Regions from separate parts of the Homo sapiens genome. Here region 1 is linked to region 2. Evidence: promoter capture Hi-C in human tissues and cell types (Jung and others, 2019). All regions are on one chromosome and are shown on one strand. The core of a region is centred on a gene start or on the middle of the fragment in contact, and the rest is flanking DNA. Distances in the headings are between cores, read along the strand shown.

The links. Contacts are between HindIII fragments. The study calls those that stand out against the background at their distance.
Region 1: the fragment with the promoter of FTCD here is called in contact with a fragment that was not itself captured in region 2 in 2 of the 25 tissues and cell types used here (heart right ventricle and mesenchymal stem cells).

Annotation. Positions count from the first base shown.
Region 1 is chr21:46,154,079-46,160,423 of GRCh38, reverse strand. FTCD (formimidoyltransferase cyclodeaminase) reads left to right here and starts at 4,845. Exons shown (of 14, transcript NM_206965.2): 1 at 4,845-4,954; 2 at 6,092-6,275. The coding sequence starts at 4,901. RefSeq lists enhancers at 5,072-5,775, 5,776-6,345. The HindIII fragment of the contact is 26,017 bases long and covers 1-6,345 here.
Region 2 is chr21:45,954,827-45,960,719 of GRCh38, reverse strand. No RefSeq gene overlaps it. Among named protein-coding and RNA genes, the nearest start is that of COL6A1, 24 kb to the left of the region's middle. The HindIII fragment of the contact is 8,613 bases long and covers 1-5,893 here.

The sequences.
Region 1 (6,345 bases), core at 3,596-6,095, 200 kb before region 2:
AAGACGGGCCCTCAGTGAATTGGCGGGACCTTGGGGCTGAGGAGATACCCAGTTCCAAAGTGCCCTGGAACGAGGGGCATTTACCGTGTCTCAGGGGAGTCTTGGCTCATGCTGCACAAGCCAGCACGCTCAGCCTGGTCCTCACACTGTCTCAGCAATAGTGGCGAGGATGGCAGGGCTGTCACACATTAACAGTTCAGAGCTCGATGGAGACTGCTGGGGACCCCACTCTGGCTGGTAGCTACAACATTCAGCTCCCAGGTGCAGATGGGCTGGATCCTGGGGTGCGGGCCCAACCTCATGCCCGGCAGACGAGGGGCCCACTGGCCTGAGAAGCTCTGGCTGGGTGCTGATTTCTGGCCTTACCTTTGAGGGTGGCCTGTGGCCACACCGGCAGTGGGCTGGCTCTGTGGCTGGGTGCTGATTTCTGGCCTTACCTTTGAGGGTCGCCTGTGGCCACGCCGGCACTGGGCTGGCTCTGTGGCTGGGCCAGGAGCTTTGGGCCCCAGGCCTAGGGCTGCAGCCACACAGTCTCGGCCAGGTGGTCCATGCCCCCTTCCCCTCGGTGCCAGCGAGTGGATACTTTCAGCAAGCCTGGGATAGGAAGGGCTGTGATGAAACGCACCAGGATTTATTTCAGTTGGGTGTGGTGGGATACAGACACAGGACTCCTGACTTTAAAGGAGAGTGTGTCACAAAGTACTGCAGACCCAGCTACTTAAACCACAGGAGGGCACGTACCGTGCCACACAGGGCCGCCCGGGGCGGGGCGCCGTGGCAACAGGACGCAGAAGGCGAGAGGGGAGAGCATGGCCAGAGGCTCTGTGGGGGTTTCCCTGGGAAGAGAGGCCAGGGAGGGTAGGCACGAAGGAGCAAGTTTAGGATTGGACAGGTTAATTTCCCTGGGCTCCGGGCTATGGGGTGGTGTCTAGTTGACCACCGTCCTGCCCCAGGGTGATTGAGGGCAGAGGAACATGGGTTTGGTGAGTGAGTCAGATAAGGGGTGGTTGGGTTTACAGGCTCCAGGTGGGTTGGCTTGTGCCTTAAAGGGGAGCTCTGTTTGCAGGCACCTTTTGCTGTCTCTAGGAATTAGCCAGTCCTGGGAGGGCAGTCTCCACCTAGCCAGTAAGGCCCCCGAGAGGTCAAAGCATTGTAAACCAGAAAACAAAAACCATATGAGTTATACAGGAACAGTCTGGTGGGCAGGTGGCATTCAGCCCCTGTGCTCTGGGTCTCTAGAAGAATGGGGTTCTCAGCCTCTGGCCATGGGTCCCCCAAACAGCCTTAGTGTCTTCCAGGCTCTTGGGCTTGGCTTGGAGTGGCCCCTGGGGGCTTTGGCTGGGGCGGTGCCCATGGCTCACCCTCTGTCCATATAGTGGGGCCCAAGTTGTCCACTGTGCTGGGCTAGCCTGGGGGGGCCCTGTGGTCAGAAGCTAGACCCCCACCCTGGCAGTGCCACCCCCTAGGCCCCTAAGCTGCAGGTGCACGTGGAACTTTCTGGAGGGCTCCCGTGCAGAGAGGGTGAAGCCCATTCCTGCACTTTTTCTTACTGTACTATTAAAATGAGGAGAAATGGGAACAGGGTGAGGAGGGTGGCCCTGAAGTGGCTGGCGTGGCCATGTCTCCTGGGGCAGCACCCGGGCCCTGGGCACCAGCTCTTCCATCTGTAGACGGGAGGGCAGTGAGCTTCTAGGGGATGATTTCCACCTCCTGGGACGGAGGTGGGCACCGGCCCAAGTGAACTCGGATTCTCCTGCACACAGCTTCCGTATTCAGTCATTTACTTATGGGCCCACTATGTTTGTCTCATACTCTGGGTTAGAAAAGTGTATGGCCTGCCTGGCCCTGGAATCAGTAGCCCTGGGCCTGTCACTGGGGAGAGATGGTGGAAACCCTGGTGTGGGCATAGCTGAGATTCTTTCTCCTGTAAGTGGGGTCCCTTAGGGTCCCCGATTCAGGAGCTATTTACAGCACCTGCCAGCATTTCTAATGTCTCAGTGCTGCCCCTGAGAACCAGCGCCGGCGTCACAACCAGCCCCATTCCCCCTCGTGTTCTCAGCTGTAGCCAAGCCCTGGTCCAGCAGTAGCTGGGTAGGAAATGCATGCAGCTCCTGCCGGGGCCTCCCGCCCCAACCCTCTCTCCTGACAGGCGATTTGCTGGGCTGGAGGACAGGGCCAGGTCTTGGCCTTGGCACCGTCCTGGGTCACGAGTGTATGGTTCTGGTCACTCTGCTGTGGTGCGAGGATGAAGGTGCCAGCCCAGTGTGGGCAACCCTCACAGCCAGAATGTTCCAGTGCCCCGCACCTCGGGACCCTGGATGTGTGCGGCTGCCGTCACAAAGTACCGCAGACCCAGCAGCTTAAACCACAGAAATTTATTCTATCACAGTCCTGAAGGCCCAGAGTACAAGATCAAAGTGTCTGCAGATTCTGTTTGTCTGAGGTCTCTCTGCTTGGCTTGCAGGCGGCCGCCTCCCTGCTTTGTCCTCCTGGCCTTTTCTCTGAGTGCATCCCTGGTGTCTCTCCCTCTTCTCACCGCCCTGTCCATCTCCACATCCAATCCAGTCGGCGGTGCTGGGGGTAATCCAGTCTGCCATGCTGGAGGTCAGGCCTTCAGCAGATGGTTTCTCGAGGGAATGCAGTGCGGCCCTCAACAGACCCCATCCTCCCCTCCTGGCCTCCAGACATGGATCCCTGACTCCATCCTCCCCTTGAGGCTCCACAGAGCTCTGACCCCATCCTCCCCTCCTGGTCTCCCTCCAGACACAGATCCCTGACCCCATCCCCCACTCCCAGCCTCCAGACGTGGAGCCCTGGCTGGGGAACTCTGTGTGCTCCCAGCCTCTGAAGGTTTCTGGGCTTACCTGGCTCCTGTCTCATCCCAGTCCCCCTGAGTAGCCACGGAGGTGGGGTCCCTAAGGCCCACATGGTTGGGGTTCCATTAAGAACTTCAAGTGGGTGGCTCACGCCTGTAATCCCAGCACTTTGGGAGACCGAGGTGGGTGGATCATGAGGTCAAGAGATCGAGACCATCCTGGCCAACATGGTGAAACCCCATCTCTACTAAAAATACAAAAAATTAGCTGGGTGTGGTAGCGGGTGCCTGTAGTCCCAGCTACTCTGGAGGCTGAGGCAGGAGAATGGCGTGAACCCGGGAGGCAGAGCTTGCAGTGAGCCAAGATCGCACCACTGCACTCCAGCCTGGGCGACAGAGCGAGACCCTGTCTCAAAAAAAAAAAAAAAAAAAAAAAAGAACTTCAAGTGGGGCTGGGCTCAGTGGCTCACACTTGTAATTCCAGCACTTTGGGAGGCCGAGGCAGGAGGATCGCTTGAGCCCAGGAGTTTGAGACCAGCCTGGGCAACGTGGTGAGACCTCATGTGTATTTGTCTGATAAAGACATACGCAAGACTGGGTAATTTTTAAAGAAAAAGCAGTTTAATGGACTCAACAGTTCCACAATCATGGTGGAAGGTGAAAGAGGAGCAAAGTCACGTCTTACAAGAGGGTGTGTGCAGGGGAACTGCCCTTTATAAAACCATCGGATCTCGTGAGACCATTCACTATCACAAAAACAGCACCGGAAAAAGCCGCCCCCGTGATTCAGTGACCTCCCACCGGGTCCCTCCCATGACGTGGGAACTATGGGCTCTACAATTCAAGATGAGATTTAGGTGGGGACACAGCCAAACCATATCACCATGTCTACCAAAAATGGAAAAGTTAGCCAGTGTAGTGGTGTGTGCCTGTGGCCCAGATGCTCAGGAGGCTAAGGTGAAAGGACCTCTTGAGCCTGGGGACCAAGGCTGCAGGAAGCCATGATTGTGCCGCTGCACTCCAGCCTGGCTGACAGAGTGAGACTTTGTCTCAAAAAAAAAAAAAAGAGAAAATGATAAAAGCACTGCAAGTGGGCAGCGGCTGAACGTGGAGACAGGAGTTCTCCCTTCTGAGCACGGCCCTGGTGCCGCTGACTTCGTGGGGAGCCTGTAGTCAGGGGAGCAGCAGCTGGGGAGAGCTGGGGTCTCAGCTGCCTTCCCCCATATCGCACATGCCCGTCTCGTGTGTATCTGCACTCTCACACGCGTGTTCCCCTGCCCTGCGCTCACATGTATCTGCACTCACTCTCACATGCTTGCTTCCCCTGCCCCATGCTCACGTGTACCTGCACTCTCACACGTGTGCTCCCCTACCCCACACTCACATGTATCCTCGCTCACTCTCACACGTGTTCCCCTGTCCTGTGCTCACATGTATCCACGCTCTCACACATGTGCTCCCCTGCCTTGTGCTCACGTGTATCTGCACTCTCACGTGTTCCCCTGCCCTGCCCTCACGTGTATCCTCACTCACTCTCACACGCGTGCTCCCCTGCACTCTCCTGTCTGAGCTGAGCTGACCTCAGTTGGGTGCTGCGAGCCAGGGCCTCATGCTGGCCTCTCGCCCTCCACAGCCCCAGGGGTCCAGGCTCCTCCAGGAACAAACGCAGGCCCCACGGGCTGCCTGGAAGGCCTCCCAGAAGGCAGCACAGGGTCACGAGGGTCACCCGCAGTGGCACAGGGAGGCCTCGTCACGACAGGATTCCAGCCAGGCTGGCCTGATGCTCCTGGGGGTCCTCGGCACATGCCCCTTCACCCTGGCATGTGCTTCTTTTCCGGGAACCCACACTCTGGCTGAGTGGAGCCATCCCCTCTGGGTCAACAGCACCCGGGGTGGCTCTGCAGCACCCCACTCCGCGGCTGCACAGGGACCTTGGCCCCACTGCTCCTTGTGCCTTGCTGGTTAATGAGAAGCCGGTGGGGAGGTGCTGCCGGTGAGCGTATAAAGGCCCTGGCGGCGGCTGCGGAGCACTGGCCCTGTCCTTCCATCTGCCCAGAGAGGAGCATCTGGATCAAGGTGCTGGCCATGTCCCAGCTGGTGGAATGCGTCCCCAACTTTTCGGAGGGGAAGAACCAGGAGGTGAGGCCCGAGGAGCTGGTCAAGCATCTAGGGCTGATGGGGCAGCTTGAGTGGCTAAGGCCCAGGCCATGGAGGAGGTGGTGGGCTTGGTGTCCCGGGTCGTCTTCCCAGGATGGGCAGAGCCGCTGCCCGTGGGCCCCAAGGACATCCCGTGGCTCAGGGCCCTGGGGAGTGCCTGACCCAGGGGTGGGTGGAACACGACTGGTGCTTGTGGGGGCTGAGGCTTGGCTGTGGCTTCAGGGGCCTTTCGGGTGCTTTCGGTGGGGGGTTGGGCAGATCTCTGGGCCTCAAAGGGCCTTGGTGCTCCCCCCTGAAAATGGGGCTCCTGCCACTGACTGAAAGGGCTGTGTGAGGCCACACGAGGTGGCCCAGCATGGTCCCCACTGCCGCCTCTCCATCTCCACTGGAGTTAGCTTGCTGAGCCCCCACCCTGCAGCCACCATCCTCACTGGACCCAAAACGAAGTAGGCACAGAGGGGGCAGCAGGCCCCCAGGTCCGGCCTCTCGCCTTCCACAGCCCTGAGGTCCAGGCTCCTCCGGGAACAAACGCAGGCCCTAAGGGCCACCTGGAAGGCCTCCCAGAGCGCAGCACCAGGCCACAGGGGTCACCCGCAGGGGTGCAGGGAGGCCTCGTCATGCCGGGATTCCAGCCAGCACCAAGGCCCTGGGACAGGGCAAGATTTGGGGCTGAGCCCCTGCTCCCAGCAGTCCTGCCACCCGGAAGGTTCTAGGCCCTTCAGGCCCCTCCCCCATGCTGGTGATCTGTCCCTCCCCTGCTCGGGGGTGGGGGTCCCGGCCCCTCTGTGACCTGCGCCTGTGGTCACCTTCTTGGATCCCCGGCCACGTCTCTGGCATCTGTCTGTCGGAGCAGAGCCCGTGAGTCTCTCCTGGAGGCACCACCTGCAGCCCCTTGTGGGGACTGTGCTTGGGCTGGAGTGACTGTGGCTGCTGTGAGGGTTCCCGGGCGGCCGCTGTGTGCGGGCACTTTCGGTGGGAGCTCAGCTTGTCGGAGAGCCCCCAAAGGCTTGGCCCGCCTCCTCAGCCCCCATTTGTGTCTCGGGGTGCAGCCACCTCCAAGCTCCTTTTCCTTCTTTCAAACGGGGAGACTGAGGTGTGGGGGCCGGGCCTGTGTCCCAGGTGATCGACGCCATCTCTGGAGCCATCACACAGACCCCGGGCTGCGTGCTGCTGGATGTGGACGCAGGCCCTTCCACCAACCGCACCGTGTACACCTTCGTGGGGCCGCCGGAGTGCGTGGTGGAGGGGGCCCTCAACGCTGCCCGGGTAGCTTCCCGACTTATCGACATGAGCAGGCACCAAGGTGAGGTCTCTGGGCTCTCCTGTGGCTGCCGTGTCTCAGAATGTCAGGGCCGAGCCCTGTCCTGGTGTCC
Region 2 (5,893 bases), core at 3,039-5,538:
GTTCTCGTGATAGTGCATAAGTCTCATAAGATCTGATGGTTTTATAAAGGGCAGTTCCTCTGCACAGGTTCTCTTGCCTGCCACCATGTAAGATGTGCCTTTGCTCCACCTTTGCCTTCTGCCATGATTGTGAGGCCTCACAGCCATGTGGAACTGTGAGTCCATTAAACCTCTTTTCTGTTATAAATTACCCAGTCTCGGGTATGTCTTTATTAGCAGCCTGAGAACAGATGAATACAGTGGGTTATTCACGTTATCTCCTGAAATATTCACTTCCAGGCCCTTGGAAAAGCTGAGCTGCACATCATGTGATGGTTAGAGGTGTCTAATGGTCATTAGAGGACACAGAGCGGTGCCACCCTGTGTCCATTGAATGAACTGCCCACAACAGGCCCTCCCAGTGCCTCCCCTGCCAGGCTCAGACTCATCATCTTGGGAAGGACAATGTGTCCCACACGGCCCTTTCCTTGGGGCCTTCCTCACCGTCTGTCTTGGATGTAGCCTCAGCCATCAGTGCCAGTGTTCCTGGGATGCTTGGCAAGGGCAGGGTCCTGGGTTGCATCCAGAACAGGGATCAGAACTGCAGGTGACGCACCTTGGAGTCTGCAGCACTCCAAGGCCAGCTGGTTCCTGCACATTCCAGGCTCCCAGAGCCAAGGCCGCTGCCTGAGCAGTGGAGAGAGGTGTTGAGACCAGTCACGGAAGCAACGTCCAGAGTGCACCCTGGAAGGGCAGGGGCTGGCAGCAGGGACTTTCTGGGAGAGGATCCCTGACTGCAATGAGGGCCGTGGGGTGGACCAGAAAGGATGCATCTCCGCGTGCTGCTACAGCACAGGTGGCTTCCTGTGTTTCTGAGCTTGGACAGGAACAGACTCTCTCAGGATGGACTCTGTGTCTGGCATCTCCTGCTTGGCGTAAGGTCCCTGAGGCAACCCAAGTTGATGTGTGTCTGAGCAGGCTGTTCATTCCCATTGCTGTGGAGCATCCCAGTGCGCAGACACTCCACATTTTACTCTCTCACTCATTTTGGGTGGCCTGTGGAGTGGAGATGTCATGAGAAGGGTGCTATGAATGTCCCAGTGGATGTTTCTGGTGCACACACATTCACAGTTCTCTTGACCACATCTGGAAGTAGAAACTACAAGGTCACAGACACGCAGATACTCAGCTTCAGGAGACACCACTCATCTTCCAGAGGAGCTATTCACTTCCAGCAGCCATCATTGGAAGTTCTATTTGCTCCACATCCTCTGTCCACAGGCCATCTCTGCCTGTTTCATTTCAGCTGTCTGTCGGCCAGGCAGCAGTTCCACGCTGTGGTTTAAATTTGCATGTTTGTTGGTAATGAGGTCGAACACCTTTGTGTATGCTTGTTGCCCACTGATTTCTCATGTCTTCTGAAGAGTCTGAGCAAGTCTTTTTCTCATTGGTCTCTTGGGCTGTCTTCTTATTTGCACGTTCTAGAATGAGGCTCTGTGTCAGACAAGTGTACTGTGAATATTTTGTCTTTCTAGTTCTTTATTTTATAGTTGTTTATCAACTTCGTTTATGGTTAGTGGTTTTGTGACCTCGGTATCACTCTTTGCCCACTGCAAGCTCTGGAAGCTCTTCTCCAATGTTTACTTCTAGAAGATCATTGTCTTACTTTTGACATGCAGATCTAAAATCCATCTGGAATTGACTTTTTTTTGGTATAGGGTGTGAGGTAGTGTTTTGTTTTGTTTTGTCAGAATGAAACAGAACAAAAAAACAGAAAAGGACCCCCAGAAAGGAAATTTAACAAAGTATCAGCACTGGTTATCTTTGGATGGTAGAAAAATGAGTGATTCTCATTTTTCTTCCCTGGAGTTATGAATTTTTACTTTTTGGGAAAGTGTTATGATGCTCTCCTAGGGTGATGGTTTTGACAGACTTCACTCTAACATCACTTTTCTCGGCATTGTAACAAATCCATTCTGACCATTGGAAAAGAAATTGTCCACTTTTGTACGAGCCATCTGATGGGCCCACTCCCTCTGGCTGAGTCTGTTTTCCCAGTAGAGGAAGCTCTCATGGGCTTGAGTTCCAGACAGTCATTCACTAATTCTTAAGAGGAAAAAGAATACTTCTGTGGTGGACACAGAAGTAGTCCAATTTCAAATACTGGACTTTCAAATGAAGTTCAAAAGTTTCCTGTATCTGAATCTGTCCAAACGACACTTGGAAATTTTCAAAAACACATTTTTTAAGAATTAGTCCTTTCTGTTTTCTCTATTTGGTCCTGCTTCTCCCATGGGAATCTCTTGGTCAACGAAATTCTTCTCCAGCTCCTGCTGACTCTGTGCTCTCCCACTCTGTCCAGCTCTGTCTCGTTGTGATCTGTACTATGCCCCCAAACTCCCTTTTTTTTTTGCTTGTGAAAAAAGCCCTGGCTGATCTGTTATTCAATCTTGAAAACAAACAAAAATAAAAAATGAACCAGTCTCTGACTATAAGGCAAGATTGGAAGCGAGCGTGCTGAGTCCAGGAAATGCTTGCCCCATTCTGCAGTGGGCTCCGCCCTAACTCAGTGATCAAGCCAAAACCTCGAGCTGGGTTGGAAAAGTGGTGATGCAGCCAACTTAGCTTCTCAAAGATGCCTTCTGGCATAGGACTGTTTTCAGCTGGTTATTTTGAAATGCTTTGTAAGAACAATTTACATCAATAAATGAAACTTCATTTCTTTTCTTTTGTTTTTGTTTTTGGAGACAGGGTCTCACTCTGTCACCCAGGCTGGAGTGCAGTGGTGTGATTGCAGATGACTGCAGCTTGAATTCTTGGAGTCAATCAATACTCCCACCTCAGCCTCCCAAGTAGCTCGGGCTACAGGTATGCAACACCACGCCTGGCTAATGTTTGTATTTTTTGTAGAGATGGGCTCTCACTATGTTGCCCAGGCTGGTCTCCAACTCCTGAACTCAAGTGATCTGCCTGCCTCAGCCTCTCAAAGTGCTGGGATTACAGGAGTGAGCCACCGCCCAGCTGAAACCTCCATTTAAAGGGCATCTCTGTCTTTGCATTGGGAAAAGAAGGGGAACGAAGTCACTAGAAACTCTTACACTGGAGGCAGTGTTGGCTTGACTCTCCATAGCAAGCCTTACCTTTGTTTAGGTGTTTTTCTGTCCACCTTATCTTAACTGGGCCTTTTGGTTTTTCAAGGATGAAGTACTTTATTACTCACAGCAATATCAGTAGCCAGAATGTTGGCATTTTTTTCTAACAGAGTATCAGCATACTTTTCACACCAGTTTCCGAGCCCCGTTTCCCAAACAGTGACACAGAGTGGGCCCAGTGGCATCTGCACACACCGTGGACTGCACTGCAGGAGAGGAACCCTGAGCTCAGGGAACGTGAATCTTTTATAATGGACAGTAAGCATGCCTGCTCTTTGCTTTGGAGGGAGAAAACGTCTTTACCTTCAGGATTAGGGTGTAAGCAACCTGCCCTTTGATCTGGAAGGACATATTATCAAGGCTGTCACAAAACAACACCCTTGGAAAGATGGTCTAGAACAATCAGTGCCTCTGTCCATGAGATGAGCAGGAATGTCAGAGACAGAGAGTTGGGTCCCAGCCTCATCCAGTCCTCATTGCAAATCGTCTTGGCCACTGACACGTTTTCTTGTGAGTGTGCCACTTGATATGGTTTGGAGGTTTTGTCTCCTCCAAATCTCATGTGAAAATGTGTTTCACAGTGTTGCAGGTGGGCCCCGGGGGGAGGTATTGGATCACGGGGTGGATGTCTCATGAATAGCCTAGAGCCATCTTCTTGGCAATGAGCACGTTCTCACTCAGTTCCCATGAGAGCTGGTTGTTTAAAGGAGCCTGGCTCCTCTGCCCACTCTGTCCCTTGCTCCTGTTCTTGCCATGGGATGTGCCTGCTTCCATGGCCACTTTCTGCAATGACTATCACTTCCCAAGGCTTCCCCAGAAGCAGACACTGGGGCCATGCTTGTGTAGCCTACAAAACCGTGAGCCAAATAAACCTCTTTTCTTTATAAATTACCCAACCCCAGGTATTTCTTTATAGCAGTGCAAACAGCCTAACACACCTGTCCATCAGCCACTCTCATTACTCCCACTGACAGAGGCGATCTTTCCTTCATGGACCTTCTTGCTGTTTGTTTTACTGTTTTGCACCAAGCACACATGGGTGTGTTTGTGACATCATCCCTCTGCCCCTGACCTCCCCATTTAAGCGTTTGTAATTAAATTGCACCCACCTGGATAAGCCAGAGTTACCTCTTTATTTTCATGTCAACTGAGTAGAAACCTTAATTAATTGGCAACATTAATACCCCCTTGCTATGGAATATGATGTATTCATGGGTTCTGGGGTTTAGGATTTGCACATCTTTTGGGGGCCATGATTCTGCCTTCTACATAGATCACATCAGACAAAAAGCATCAAAGCTGTTCAAGACTTGACAACGCAGTCACCAGCTATTAGATCCACATAGAGCGGGTGGCAGGCAGAGAATACACTTCTACTCAAGCAGACGTGGAAGACTTACAAAAAGAGACCATTGGATTAGGTCATAAAAGATGCCTCAGTAAACCCCAAAGGATCCGTGTCATGGAGATTATGAATTCGTACCATGATGCAAAACATTTGGAAATGAATATTCAAAGGATACCTGAGAGAATCTCATGTGTTTGGATATTTAATAACATTTTACTAGTAACCTTTGGGTAAGTAGAACTCTTGAGGGAATGAAAAACCTCTTTAGAATTGAATAATAATGATAATACCGTATGTCAAAAGTCACAGGACACAGTTAAGAGTACCTAGAAATATACAGTCATAAATACATTTTCAATAGGACGGGCGTGGGGGCTCACACTTGTAATCCCAGGTGACTACAGGAGGCCGAGGTGGAGGATCGCTTGAGCCTAGGAATTGCAGACCAACCCGGGCAACAAAGCAAGACCCTGCTTCTACAATAAATGAAAAAATAAATTAGCTGGGTGTGGTGGTGCACGCTTGTAGAGAGTAAAAGTTTTCCTCTTCAAATTTCCCCTTCTTGTTAAAGAATACATCATAAGTGTTAGAAATAATAGTTTCTTTTAAAGACTTTCTTCAATTCTCCTTGCTTTGTGCTAATAACTCTTTGTTAAGCCCTATCCCATGTAATTGTTGGACATGCTCACAGACACGTTCCAGCTCACAGCCTATGCCCCTTCCTTATTTGGAAATGTTATTGCTTCCTTAGACCTTTCCTAATTACCTATTTAGGAAAGTTTCAGGTTATTAGCAAATCAGGTATCAGTTTAAGACTGTGAGGCCCAGCTCCAGCCAATGGATGCAGGACACAACAGTAAGGACGACCCAAATGCTTAAGGGTTAATTATGTCTGCCTTTCCTTTGCTTAGGTGACCTCTCGCGATCATTCCATCTGTGACTGAGCACCCTTTCTGCAGAAAGTAAAGATGGCCTTGCTGAGAGATCTTTTGTGTCTGTGCTGACTTTTCTTCGCGGCACCGATTATCTATTTCGAACAATTTTGGTATTTCTAACAGCACTTGTAGTCCCAGCTACTTAAGAGGCTGAGGTGGGAGGGTTGCTTGAGTCTAGGAGTTTGAGGCTTCAGTGAGCTATGACAGCACCACTGCACTCCAGCCTGGGGAACAGAGCAAGACCTTCTTTCAAAAAAAAAAAAAAAAGAAAAAAGAAAAGAAATAGAACTAATCATACAAATGAAATAATTGGAAAAAACAGCAATGTAACAAAATGATCCCAAAGTAATAAGAAAAAGGGAAATGACAAAGATACTGGCAGAAATCAATGAAATAGAGAAAAATAAAATAATATGAGTAGCAAAAACCAAGGATCATACTTTGAAAAGATATATTGATTTTGACAATATTGAGCAAAA